Linked DNA regions of Homo sapiens: all the other regions are linked to region 3. Evidence: promoter capture Hi-C in human tissues and cell types (Jung and others, 2019). All regions are on one chromosome and are shown on one strand. The core of a region is centred on a gene start or on the middle of the fragment in contact, and the rest is flanking DNA. Distances in the headings are between cores, read along the strand shown.

The links. The method cuts DNA at HindIII sites, captures the fragments that hold promoters and counts their contacts. A contact is called where the count stands out against the background at its distance.
Region 1: a contact is called between a fragment that was not itself captured here and the fragment with the promoter of LRRC37B in region 3, in 1 of the 25 tissues and cell types used here (lymphoblastoid cells).
Region 2: a fragment that was not itself captured here is called in contact with the fragment with the promoter of LRRC37B in region 3 in 3 of the 25 tissues and cell types used here (dorsolateral prefrontal cortex, lymphoblastoid cells and spleen).

The regions. Positions count from the first base shown.
Region 1 is chr17:31,861,006-31,865,368 of GRCh38, reverse strand. It overlaps UTP6 (UTP6 small subunit processome component), which reads left to right. Exons shown (of 19, transcript NM_018428.3): 18 at 1-3; 19 at 1,853-4,363. The coding sequence ends at 2,010. Among named protein-coding and RNA genes, the nearest start is that of COPRS, 3.9 kb to the right of the region's middle. The HindIII fragment of the contact is 4,843 bases long and covers 1-3,709 here.
Region 2 is chr17:32,197,856-32,202,031 of GRCh38, reverse strand. RHOT1 (ras homolog family member T1) reads right to left here. Exons shown (of 20, transcript NM_001033566.3): 12 at 3,001-3,085; 13 at 2,482-2,627; 14 at 976-1,076. Among named protein-coding and RNA genes, the nearest start is that of RHOT1, 57 kb to the right of the region's middle. The HindIII fragment of the contact is 4,562 bases long and covers 1-3,965 here.
Region 3 is chr17:32,004,437-32,008,733 of GRCh38, reverse strand. LRRC37B (leucine rich repeat containing 37B) reads right to left here and starts at 1,351. Exons shown (of 15, transcript NM_001321350.2): 1 at 602-1,351. LOC124903972 reads left to right here and starts at 1,027. Exons shown (of 4, transcript XM_047437248.1): 1 at 1,027-1,358; 2 at 2,029-2,127. The coding sequence starts at 1,027. RefSeq lists silencers at 946-1,295, 1,336-1,385 and an enhancer at 1,428-2,350. The HindIII fragment of the contact is 11,687 bases long and covers 1-3,581 here.

The DNA of each region.
Region 1 (4,363 bases), core at 39-2,538, 140 kb after region 3:
CTGGTAAGTAAACCCTTAATTTGTGACCAATTAGTATGGTTAGAACAGTGTTTCTTGGCTGAGTACAGTGGCTCATGCCTGTAATCCCAGCACTTTGGGAGGCCAAGGCAGGCGGATCACCTGAGGTCAGGAGTTCGAGACCAGCCTGGCCAATATGGTGAAACCCCGTCTCTACTAAAATAAAAATTAGCTGGACATGGTGGTGCGCACCTGTAATCCCTGCCTGGGAGGCTGAGGCAGGAGAATCGCTTGAGCCTGGGAGACGGAGGTTGCAGTGAGCTGAGATTATACCATTGCACTCCAGCCTGGGCAACAACAGTGAAACTCCGTCTCAAAAACAAACAAACAAACAAACAAAACTGTTTCTTAGTTTTTTGATTTGCATCATAACCCTCTTTTAAAATAAAACTTGTTTCCTTCCTCTGCCTCCTCACTTGCTTTGTGTATACTATCATTTCAGGATCATAAGTTCAGGGGTCCATGGGTCGTCTGTTAAGAACCCTAGATTTCTCAGGAGCCTGAGACCAGCCTGGGCAACATATTTAGATCCCCATCTCTACAAACAATAAAAAAAAAAAAGTAACTGGGTATGGTGGTGCATGCTTGTGGTCCCAGCTACACAGCAGGCTGAGGTGCGAGGATTGTTTGGGCCCCAGGATGTTGAGGCTGCAATGACTGTGATGCCACCATTGTACTCCAGCCTGGGCAATACAATGAGATCCTGTCTCAAAAACAAAAACCAAAAACACCCCCTCTGGATTAGAGAAAGATTTGCATGGTTTTGTTTTCTTAAAAAAAATGTATTTAGAGTTACATGAAAGGGGTAAACGTGAGATGCTAATTGGCGTCTGTTGTTGACTATCTCCACATTGCCCTCATTTGTAGGACTTGTACAACATACTTCTGGGTATAGGTATGTCATGTAAAATCTGTGGACTTTGTGAACTCATAAACATTGATTTGTTTATTTTTATTTTGTTTTGAGACAGAGTCTCACTCTGTCACCCAGGCTGGAGTGCAGTGGCGCAATCTTGCCTCACTGCAATCTCTGCCTCCCAGATTCAAGCGATTCTCGTGCCTCAGCCTCCCAAGTAGCTGGGAGTACAGGCACGCGTGCCACCATGCTCGGCTAATTTTTGTATTTTCAGTCGAGATGGAGTTTCGCCATGCTGGCTAGGCTGGTCTTGAACTCTTGACCTCAGGTGATCCGCCCGCCTTGGCCTCCCAAAGTGCCGGGATTACAGGTGTGAACCACTGTGCCTAGCCAAAAAGTTTAGTATTTTTGAGTTCATTGAATAAAATAGACTTTTATGATTGATGTGAAGGTTTTCTACTGGGAAAAAAAACAAAAAACAAAAAAACAAAACTGATGAGGCACAGTGGCTCACGCCTGTAATCCCAGCACTTTGGAAGGCCAAGGTAGAAGGATTGCTTGAGCCCAGGAGTTCAAGACTAGCCTGGGCAATATAGTGAAACCCTGTTTCTACAAAAAATAAAAAAATTAGCCTAATATGGTGGTGTGCCTGTGTTCCCAGCTGCCCTGGAGGCTGAGGCAGGAGGGTCACTTGAACTCAGGAGGTTGAGACTGTAGTAAGCCATGTTCCCGCTACTACACTCTAGCCGGGGCAACACAGTGAGACCCTGTCTCAAAAAAGAAAAAAACACACAAAAACAAACCAAAACCTGCCACTATACTTTAAAGAAGCTAAGAGAGGTATTGTTAAACAAAGCGTCCTAGGGAAGTAACAATGAGAAGTTAAGTTTCTTAGAAATCTTGAGTTGAATTGATATTTAATAAGGTTACCTAATAACACTCTGTCAGTTATCTAATTGTATGTTTTTTTTTTAAAAGATCTTTGGATGGATTATATGAAAGAAGAATTGAACCACCCCCTTGGTAGACCTGAGAACTGTGGACAGATCTACTGGCGAGCGATGAAAATGTTGCAGGGAGAGTCAGCAGAGGCATTTGTAGCTAAACATGCTATGCATCAGACTGGCCATTTATGAAGATGAAGAATACAGTCAGCTTTGTGAAATAGTATTGCAAGCAAGCCCCGTGGGCAAATTTGTATTGAGTCCATCTGTAATTTGCTCAGTGATGGCAGACAAGATGGCTGTCTGGTTTTGAGACACACTTTAATTTTATGTTAACTTGTTAAATCTTTTTAAAAATTAAAAAATTTTTATGATTGAGACTGGGTCTTGCTCTGTTGCCCTGGCTGGTCTTGAACTCCTGGACTCAAGTGACCTTCTCACCTCAGACTCCTGAGTAGCTGGGATTATAGGTGCATGACACTGCTCAGTTTGATGTGCTAATCTGATTCCAGTAAAGAGAATTGCTGATTTAATGTTGAGGCCCGATCTTCCACAGGTCCTAAATGTTTCCCAAAATACATGGATAGCATACGACTGGGTTTTTTTAAAATTATCCCAGGTCAAGCATGAGTATCTCTAATCTCGACCTAAGAGCCAGTTAAAATGAAGGAGAAAGTGGCCAGGCATGGTGACTCAACGCCTGTAATCCCAGCACTTTGGGAAGGCTGAGGCAGGCGGATCACCTGAGGTCAGGAGTTTGAGACTAGCCTGGCCAACATGGTGAAACCCCGTCTCTACTAAAAATACAAAAATTAGCCAGGTGTGGTGGTGGGTGCCTGTAATCCCAGCTGCTTGGGAGGCTGAGGCAGGAGAATTGCTTGAACCTGGGAGACGGAGGTTGCAGTGAGCCGAGATCATGCCATTGCTACTCCATCCTGGGTAAGAAGAGCGAAACTCCTTCTCAAGGAAAAAAAAAAAGGAGAAAGTACAGTTTTGTTGGTTTATTCTCATTATAAAAGATACGTGGTATGCATTTGTTCTGGAAAATATGGAGGAAATAGAATAGTGTGGTAAAAAAAAGCATCCTGTCACTGGGAGAAGCTTTCAGTGTAGCTTATTGTTACGTTTCACTTAGTATTGTTTTTCTGTGTCATTAAATAGCCTTAAAAACATTTAATGAATTCGTAACATTACATTGTAAAAATGAGCCATAATATATTTTACTAATCCTCTGGTTAGACTGTCTTTTTTTTTTTGAGATGGAGCCTTGCTCTGTCATCCAGGCTGGAGTGCAGTGGCTCCATCTCGGCTCACTGCAACCTCCACCTCCCGGGTTCAAGTGGTTCTGGCTCAGCCTCCCGAGCAGCTGGGTGGGATTACAGGCACCCGCCACCGCGCCCAGCCAATTTTTGTATTTTTAGTAGTGCGGGGGTTTCATCATATTGGCCAGGCTGGTTGCGAACTCCTGACCTCATGATCCACCCGCCTTGGCCTCCCAAAGTGTTGGGATTACAGGCGTGAACCACTAAGCCTGGCCTGGACTGTCATTTCTAATTTTTTTAAAAATTAGATAAATGCTGTTGATGAAGATTCTTGTCAATCTTTGTTCACATCCCTGGCCATTTCCTTAGGAGATTGACATCCGACAGTGGAATTACTGGATCAAAGGATACTGCTTTTAGAGAATACTGATATGTATTGCTGGTTTGCTCCTTCTTTCAAGCAATACATGAAAGTGTCAGTACCCTTACCTGTACTGGTGTAATTATATCTTTTATTTTTACCATTTTATAGGTGAAATGTGATATGTCATTGTTTTACCATACTTTGATATTAGTGAAGTTAGTGTATTTTATGTTTCTCATCTTTTTACATCCTTAGACTATTTAAAAATTTTTTTTCTTACTAATTTATGAGTTAATTTTTTTTTTTAAATTGGACAAGTTCTTGCTTTGTCACCTAGGCTAGAGTGCAGTGGTGTGATCATGGCTCACTACAGCCTTAACTTCTGGGCTCAAGAGATCCTCCCACCTCAGCCTCTTGAGTAGCTGGGACTGCAGGTGCACACCACCATGCCTGGTTAATTTAAATTTTTTTTTGTAGAGACTGGTCTTGCTATGTTGCCAGGGCTGGTCTCTTAAACAGTTGGGCTCAAACAATCCTCCTACCTCAACCTCCCAAAGTGCTGGTATTATAGGCATGAGCCATTGTGCCTGGCCAGAGTTTTTAAAAACATATTCAGAATATTAATATCTTGTTTCTCATTTGTTGCAAATAATTTTACCCCCAGCCTTGTTTGTGGTGATTTTTTTTTTTTGAGACAGAGTCTTGCTCTGTGGTCCAGGCTGGAGTGCAGTGGTGTGGTCTTACTGCAACCTCTGCCTCCTAGGTTCAAACAGTTCTCCCTGCCAAAGCCTCCCAAGTAGCTGGGATTATAGGCACCTTTTGTGGCGATTTTTGATGCCCAGAGGTATTTTGTGTGTGTATGTGTGATGTCTGTTTTTAAAATGCTTTGGAAGCTCTTCCTGGTGCTGAGAACAACTCT
Region 2 (4,176 bases), core at 435-2,934, 190 kb before region 3:
GCTGAGGCAGCTGAATCGCTTGAACCCAGGAGGCGGAGGTTGCAGTGAGTTGAGATCTCATCACTGCACTCCAGCCTGGTGATAGAGAGAGACTCCATCTCAAACAAACAAACAAACAAACAAACAAACACAACCTCCTTAGGCTATACCTGAAGACTGAACTACAACAGACCTCACCAGAGATACTAGTGATAGTAGAAAAAAAACCGAAAATGATAAAAATATATAATTATGGGATAGTTAAATAAGTTATAGAACATCCATATTGTGAAACATTATTTAACATTAAGATATATAAAAGTATACCTATTGATACAGAAAAATGTCCACAATGTGCTGAGTGAAAGAACCTCATGGCTGGCTAGTGACTGTTTTCTTATTCTCTGGTGTTGAATTAAATACTGTCTAATTGGTTAAGTATTTTAAAGGGTACCTGCTCTGTCAATTTAAGAAAGGCTGTCTTCTTGTGCTAGGGCTTCCCATAAGATATGGCAGATTTTCCACCAACAGGGATATAAGAAACTCTTGAAATGATCAGTTCCTTAACTTGCTATTTCCATACATATGGTTTACTTTAAGTGGTGCACATTGCTTGGCAAGAATGCCTGGCTTACAAGATTTGTGAAAGCTGTATTAATACAGAAAACAGTTAATACGCATTATTTTTAATGTTTAAAGAAAATTAAAACGCAAGATCAACTGGTAAATCCTTTAATGCCCACAGCTCTTCCTCATTTTCATCAGTGGAGTAACCCCAGGGAGTAGACTTGAAGCAAAGTCTCTACTTTCTTTCTTTTCATAAACAATAAAATCAAGCACCTCAACACAAAAGAAATGATCTGATCACAAGGAAAACTAATAGAGTGTAGATGGAAGACTAATGAAGATGAGTGTATTCTTACTCTTTGTTACATTTGAAAATGGAGTCTTAAAAAATATCTCTAATCATGAGCTGAACAGTATCTAGATACTTACCTGTAACAGCTGAAGCTTGAGACTCTTGCTCAGTCAATATTGAATAGCCTAGATAGCCCAAATATTCCAGGCACCGCTGTACATCTAAATAAGTCGTGAGCCTATGAAAGAAAAGAGTTTAAAATGTGAAAAGTTCCTAAACGAATATTTATGGGGAAAAAAAAGCCAATAGCTAAAAAAACTTTATGCACCAGACCTAGATAATTTTTGTCTAGACTACTTTAATTTCCTATGAGCCCAACCATAGTTTTTCTTACACTGCCATTCTTTTTTTTTTTTTTGAAAGATAGGGCCTTACTTTGTCATCCACGCTAGAGTGCAATGGCACAAACATGGCTCACTGTAGCCTTGAACCCCTGGGTGCAAGTGATCTTCCTGCATCAGCTCCCCAAGTATCTGGGACTACAGGCATGTGCCCCCAAGCCTGGCTAATTTTTTTTTTAATTTAAAAAAATTTTTTAGTAGAGACAGGGTTTCGCCATGTTGCTTAGGCTGGTCTTGAACTCCTGAGCTCAAGTGATCCATCCACCTTGGCCTCCCAAAGTGCTAGGATTATAGGTATGAGCCACGCTGCCTGGCCCTACACTGCCATTCTTAATGCAGAGAAGAAAGGGAGAAGAATGCAAGATGGTGGGTAATTCCTCTCTCTACTCCATCTGTCCAGAAACACTAAGCTTACAAACATAAGCGGTGAGTGGCTGGTAAAATCTAGATAGAGTGGGGATATTTTATGCGATCTACCTTCCAAGTTAAAAACAAACCAAAAAAAACAACCTCCTTAGGCTATACCTGAAGACTGAACTACAACAGACCTCACCAGAATACTAGTGATAGTAGAAAAAAACCCAAAAATGATAAAAATATATAATTATGGGATAGTTAAATAAGTTATAGGACATCCATATTGTGACACATTATTTAACATTAAGATATATAAAAGTATACTTATTGATACAGAAAAATGTCCACAATGTGCTGAGTGAAAGAACCTCATGGCTGAGGCAGGAGAATGGCTTGAACCCAGGAGGCAGAGTTGCAGTGAGCCAAGATCACGCCACTACACTCCAGCCTGGGCAACAGAGTGAGACTCCATCTCAAAAAAAAAAAAAAAAAGAGTTCATTAAAAACAAACAATAACAAAAAAACAGAATCTTCAGTGTCAAGTAAAATATGCTTCACCCCATATTCTGAAAGAGTAAGAATTGTGCAACAGCAATGACATTTCCAATTCCCTTAATCAAACAAAAAAGTGCTAAAATGTAGTTCAATTTTCAAAGACTTACTACTTTTTCCCTATATATCATTCAAAAGAAAACAATCCCTTCCTGATAAATTTATAGAACATTTATAGTTCATCTTAGAGATATCAGCAGCTAATCTTGCTTAGAGGCAATTATGATTGAAGAATTTCATAATGCCTCACAAGCTTACAAAGTGACAAATGTAATACACCATAATTTTAAACTATTTGTAACTCTAGAGGAAAGAGGTGAGCTCTATACTCACGTCCACTGGGAAAGGAATCCCTGGTAGGTTATCCAGCCTCTTTCATTGGTACAAACTGTGTTATTCACATCTGGCCCCCAAGGTATGTAAGGGAAAACTTTAAATAAATCTTTAAGCTCATCAGGTGACAAAGCACAGTCTCTATCCTGAAGAAACACAAGGATACAGAATGTTTAGATATCTAAGATAATAATTCCCAACTCAAAAGCCCCCCAATCTAGTAAAGCTATGCTTTTTAAAACTACTTAATAAATGACAACAAATTTTACATTTTATCAAGAAAATTCCTCAAATGTATGTAAGAAAACCTATAAGAGAGTCTATTAGAAATTAGACATTTTCATCTTGAGAAAACAACAAAGGTAAACAGCAGAAAATATTTTTGCGAATTTAACTTAGAGAGGTTAAGCAGTTTTTGGCTATGTAACATACACATCCCATAGCTCAGGGAACAGAGTTATATCATCCATAGAAAAATGTTTTACTATATATAATGGAAAATTACAGCTAAAGGCTTACCAAATCATGCTTGTCAAAGGTGCTTTGGAGAAATAAATATGCATGATGATTTAATTCAGTAGTGCAATCAGGAGGTATTTTCAGCCTGTTGAAAAAATTCAAGAGTAAAATAAATCATTAATCAAATGTTAAAATTTAAGAAATTAATATAAAATTGCAACAAGTCTTTTGTGAGGTAACACCATTTACAAGAATATCTTCACTTGGTATCATTTAGACTTTCCCAAGGAAACTCTCTGGAGTGATTTTGGCACTCTTCAGAAGAGTCATAATAATGCTCATTCCAAAGTAACAACATTTTCTTTTTTTCTCTTTTTTAAATTCAGACAGGGTCTCACTCTGCTGCCCGGGCTACAGTGCAGTGGCACGATCACAGCTCACTGCAGTCTCGACCTCCTGGGCTCAATCAATCTACCCATCTCAGCCTCTTGAGTAGCTGGGACCACAGGCGCACACTACCATGCCTGGCTAATTTTTGTATTTTTGTAGAGATGGGGTCTCACCATGTTGCCCAGGCTGGCTCAAACTCCTGGGCTCAAGCAATCCACCCACCTTGGCTTCCCAGTAAGTGTTGGGATTATAGGCATAAGCCACTGTAGCAGGCCCATTTTCTTAAATATCAGAAAAGCAGGTTAATATAAAAAATTTACAAATAATACTGATTTACCTGTCATGGGTTTGTTCTTCCTACAAATTTTAAGTCATACTTATGAGCTTCATATTAATTCCAATATTGTAATGAGTTGAAAATGATGCAGAGAAGTTATTTCTACCTGACTTGACCTTTTGGACCCACCCTAAATTCTGTTTAATAAACATTAACCAAATGCACTGAGTGCTGGACATGGTGACTCATGCCTGTAATCCCAGCACTTTGGGAGACCGAGGCAAGGAGGATCACTTGAGCCCAGGAGTTCAAGACCAGCCTGGGCAACAAAGTGAACTCCATCTCTACAAAAAATTTTACAAATTAACTAGGCATGGTGGCACATGCTTGTAGTCCCAGCTACTGGGTAGGCTGAGGCAGGAGGACAGGTTAAGCCTGGGAGGTTAAGGATGCAGTGAGCCGTGTTTGCACCACTGCACTCTAGCCTGGGTGACAGAATGAGACCCTGTCTCAAACAAACAAACATAAAAACAAACAAAAACCAAATGTACTGGCTGGGCGTGGTGGCT
Region 3 (4,297 bases), core at 102-2,601:
AACACACAGGACCAGGTAAAGTTCCCCTACTAACCAAAATGATCCGTTTCCTTAACACAATTTAAAAACCACAGCTAGGGGTGTGAACACAGGCATGTTTTTCTGTGTGTCTGTGTGCCACAATCTGTACAAATCCTTAATTCCCTTTTAAGGAACAGATATATAATGAAAATCCGAAAGGAAACACATTAGAAATGCAAAGAGGTTTGCAAAACAAGAGGCTTCTTTCATTCCAGAAAACCACACCAAAACAAGGGGAGAAAAATGAATGCAATGGATATGTGTTTGCCAAAGTTTCAATCCTGCCCGGTGGAGACACTGCACTGGCACAAATTTTGAGGAGAAAAAAAGGGAGTTGGGGGGACGGGGAGCAAGCGAGTGCGGCCTGCAACAATGCAATCTCCATTTTGAACAATGTGCTTCTTTCCTCTTATAAATCTAGTTTTTTGCCACTTGATGTGCCCTCCCATTTCCCCTCTAAAGTTTAGGGGTCGGCGGGGTTGGCGGGAGATCGGAGCGGGATGCACAGCACATAAGTGAGCAAGGGGGGAGGGGAGAGGAGGTGGGGAATGAGTCTGCAGCAACTGCGCTGGGTGGGTACCTGGAGTGCTGCTGAAGCTGCTTTCCGTGGAGTAACTGGCGTCCTCGTCGTCATCTTCCAGCTCCTCCGGATAATCGGAGTCATCGTCGTCCTCCTCCATGTCATCCTCCTAGTTGTCCTCAGACTCCTGGGTCTCCTCGGCATCGCCGCCCCCCTCCTCTTACTCCTCCTCCTCGCTCTCGTAGTCATCATACACCACTCTGTTGACAGCCCTCCGGGCTGCGGTGGTCCGGGCTAGGTGGCTGCCCCCGCGCCCCCGCCGGGCCCGTGCGCTGGTGCCGGCGCGGGGCGGGCCGGCGGCGGTGGCTTCCTCCGGCTACTGCTGCCCACCCTGGGCGAGCTCAGCCGCGTCTTGGGCGCCACCTCAGCCTGGCGGCTGCCCACCTGCCCCGGCTACTACCGCGTATCGGCGAGGGGAGCCCCCGATGGGTCCGGACGTGGGCGGCGGCGGCGGCGGGGCCGGGGCGCAGCGCTCCGCAGCGGGAGCCGCGGGCTGCTTGGTCGGCCTGCCCCGCCGGCCCCTCTTGTTGGAGCCCAGGCGGCGGGAGAAGGGAAAGCTGACGGGGAGGGCCGGGCGCAGTGGCGGCGGTGGGGAGCGCCGGGGCCGGGTTGGGAGGCCCGAGGGGCTGGGCGGGAGGGGCCCGGCCGGCGGAAGCGAGTGGAGGGAGAAGGCTCAACCGAATTGCTGGGGCCCCACTCAAGATCGCCTTCAACCGCCACCTTGTTTCTTCCCTCTACAGGAGCGCGGTCACGTGAGGTGCGCCGCCGCCCAGCCTGGGAAGGGGGCGAGGTGGCGCGGCGGCCGCTAGGGGGAGCGCGGGAGCATTGAGTCGGGGGCGGAGAGCTCGGGGCGCCTGGACTTGGCGCAGCACGGCGCTCCGGGTGCGGGTGGCGCGGCTGAAAGAGGCCCGCAGCTCCTGACAAGCCCCGCGTCTAAGGCCTTCGGAGACCACAGTCTCCGCGGACCCCTGGCTGGAGCCCAAAGCCTGCCGGGTCTCCTTCCCGCGACTCCCCTTCCGCGGCTCGGAGAGGAAGGCAGGAGAGCCCCCAAATATCGTTCCCCTCCCGCCCTCTAGGGAAACTGAGGCTGAAAGAGGCAGCGAGAGAAAGAAAAAAAAAGTCGCGGAGGGGGGCGGCCCGAGCGACCTAAGGGACGGGGCAGCGCCAGCGACCGAGGAAAATTAGTCGGGGTGGGGTACAGGGAGACAAGCCCCCAGAATTTAGGAAACTCCGAAGCTTGGAAGTGGAGTCCTGAATTGACTCCGATGACAACTGCTCCGGATCTGTGCCAGGAGCCACACCCCGGGCTGCCACGCCTGGAGGGAGGGGGGTCCCTAAGACCTGTTGCATGGGATCCCCACTCGGAAAGCCTCAGTAAACTCCAGAATGCAACTACTGCATGTTCCAATCTCCCGCCACCTTCCCAGTGTCCCAGCTAGGAGCCTGACCACCTTAGCAAGAACTTACCTCTCCTTTGCAGTGGAAAAGAGGGAATCCTGCCTAAAACCTACTTCACGGTGTTACAGGTCTGTATTATCGGGAAATAACCTTAATTTATTTACCTGACAAATCACTAGGTTTGAGCTCAGCCCAGGGGACGAATCATGGTGACAGTTCAGGCACCCTCAAACCTTATCACAGGGACTCAACCCTGAGTGGTTGAGGTCAGTTCTTCAGATAAGAGAAAGGTTTGCCGGGCACAGTGGCTGACGCCTGTAATCCCAGCACTTTGGGAGGCCGAGGCGGGCGGATCACAAGGTCAGGAGTTCGAGACCATCCTGGCTAGCACAGTGAAACCCCATCTCTACTAAAAATACAAAAAAAATTAGCCGGGCGTAGGTGGTGCACGCCTGTAGTCCCAGCTACTCGGGAGGCTGAGGCAGGAGAATGGCGTAAAATCCGGGAGGCGGAGGTTGCAGTGAACCGAGATCGCGCCACTGCACTCCAGCCTGGGAGACAGAGCGAGACTCCGTCTCAAAAAAAAAAAAAAAAAAAAAAAAAAAAAAAGAAAAAGAAAGGTTTCGTAAACATATGTTAATATTTATTGAGATAAGTGACAACCAAAAAGTAATTTAAACAAAAATACTTGGCCGGGCGCGATAGCTCATGCCTGCAATCCCAGCCCTTTGAGAAGCCAAAGCCGGACGATTGCTTGAGGTCAAGAGTTTGAGACTAGCCTGGGCAACATAGCAGGACCTCGTCTCTAGAAAAAAATTGAAAAATTAGCCGGGCATGGTGGTGCGCACCTGTGGTCCCAGCTACGCCAGAGGGTGAGGGGGCAGGATCGCTTGAGCCTGGGAGGTGGATGTTGCACTGAGCCATGATTGCACCTCTGCACTCCAGCCTGAGTGACAGAGCAAGACCCTGTCTCAAAATTTTTAAAAAAGAAAGAAAAATACCTAATAGGAGATGGCTTATTTCAATCTAGTTAGGAAAATGGAACACATATGTGAAATGAAAATTAAAATACAAGCACTAATTGCCAAATACATGCATTCAATACAGTTTGGTTGAGCTCTAAGGGTGGCAAATGTGTGTTATGTCTTCAGGGACTAGGTAAGTAATGTAAGTCAATAAAGTAGACAAGGTGAAGACCTAGGCCAATGGAAATGCTCATATTTTGTTTGAAGAGGGTGGCCAGGTGTGGTGGCTCAGACCTGTAATCCCAGCACTTTAGGAAGCCAGGTGGGTGGATCACTTGAGCCCAGAAGTTCGAGGTTAGCCTGGCCAACATAGTGAAACCCCATCTCTACTTAAAACACAAAAATTAGCCGGGCATGGTGGCATGTGCCCATAGTCCTAGCTACTCAGGAGGCTGAGGCAGGAGAATCGCTTGAACCTGGAAGGCGGAGGTTGTGGTGAGCGGAGACCATGCCACTGCACTCCAGCCTGGGCAACAGAGCGAGACTCCTTCACCACCCCCTCCCCCCCACCAAAAAAAAGAGAAAAGTTAAACAAAATAGACCAAAAAAACCCAACTCTTCTTTGAATGGATTAGCAGGTATTTGCTGTTTTGCTCCTTTATGCTTTAATGAATTTATCTTTCTGTGGCTTCAAGAAGAAAAATGTTAAGTCAGTGAATACTGTATAGGTTGAGCATCCTTACCTAAAATGCTTTGGATCAGAAGTGTTTTGGGCATTTTTGGAATATTTGCATTCTACTTACCAGTTGATCATTTCTAATCTGAAAATCTGAAATGCTCTAATGAGCATTTCCTTTGAACAGCATGTTGACACTCAAAAACTTTTGGACCTTGGAGCATTTTGGATTTCAGATTTTCAGAATAAGGGTACTCCACCAGTATCCTTTTATCTATGATTTAATATAGCCCTTCTTTCTTCAGAATTACTGAGTGACTCATTCCTGTAATGCTGCTGAATTTTTATTCATTTACTACCTTAACAATAATATTTAACATTTATTGATCACTAATGTGCCCAGGCACTATGGTAGATGCCTCATCATTATACTTTTAAGTCTTATAGTGGCACACAGGCAGGTTTTATTATATCCTCATTTTACAAGTGAGATAAATAAAATGTCTTAGAGACTCAGAGAGGTTGTGTTTTGTCCATGTCCACATATCTTCTAAGCACATTAGCCTATTTAAAGCCAGATCTCTCCAAAAGCCCAGTTTTTTCAGTTCCCTCAGTTTGCCATTGAGGAAACAGGAAAATCAGACTCACTGTCATCAA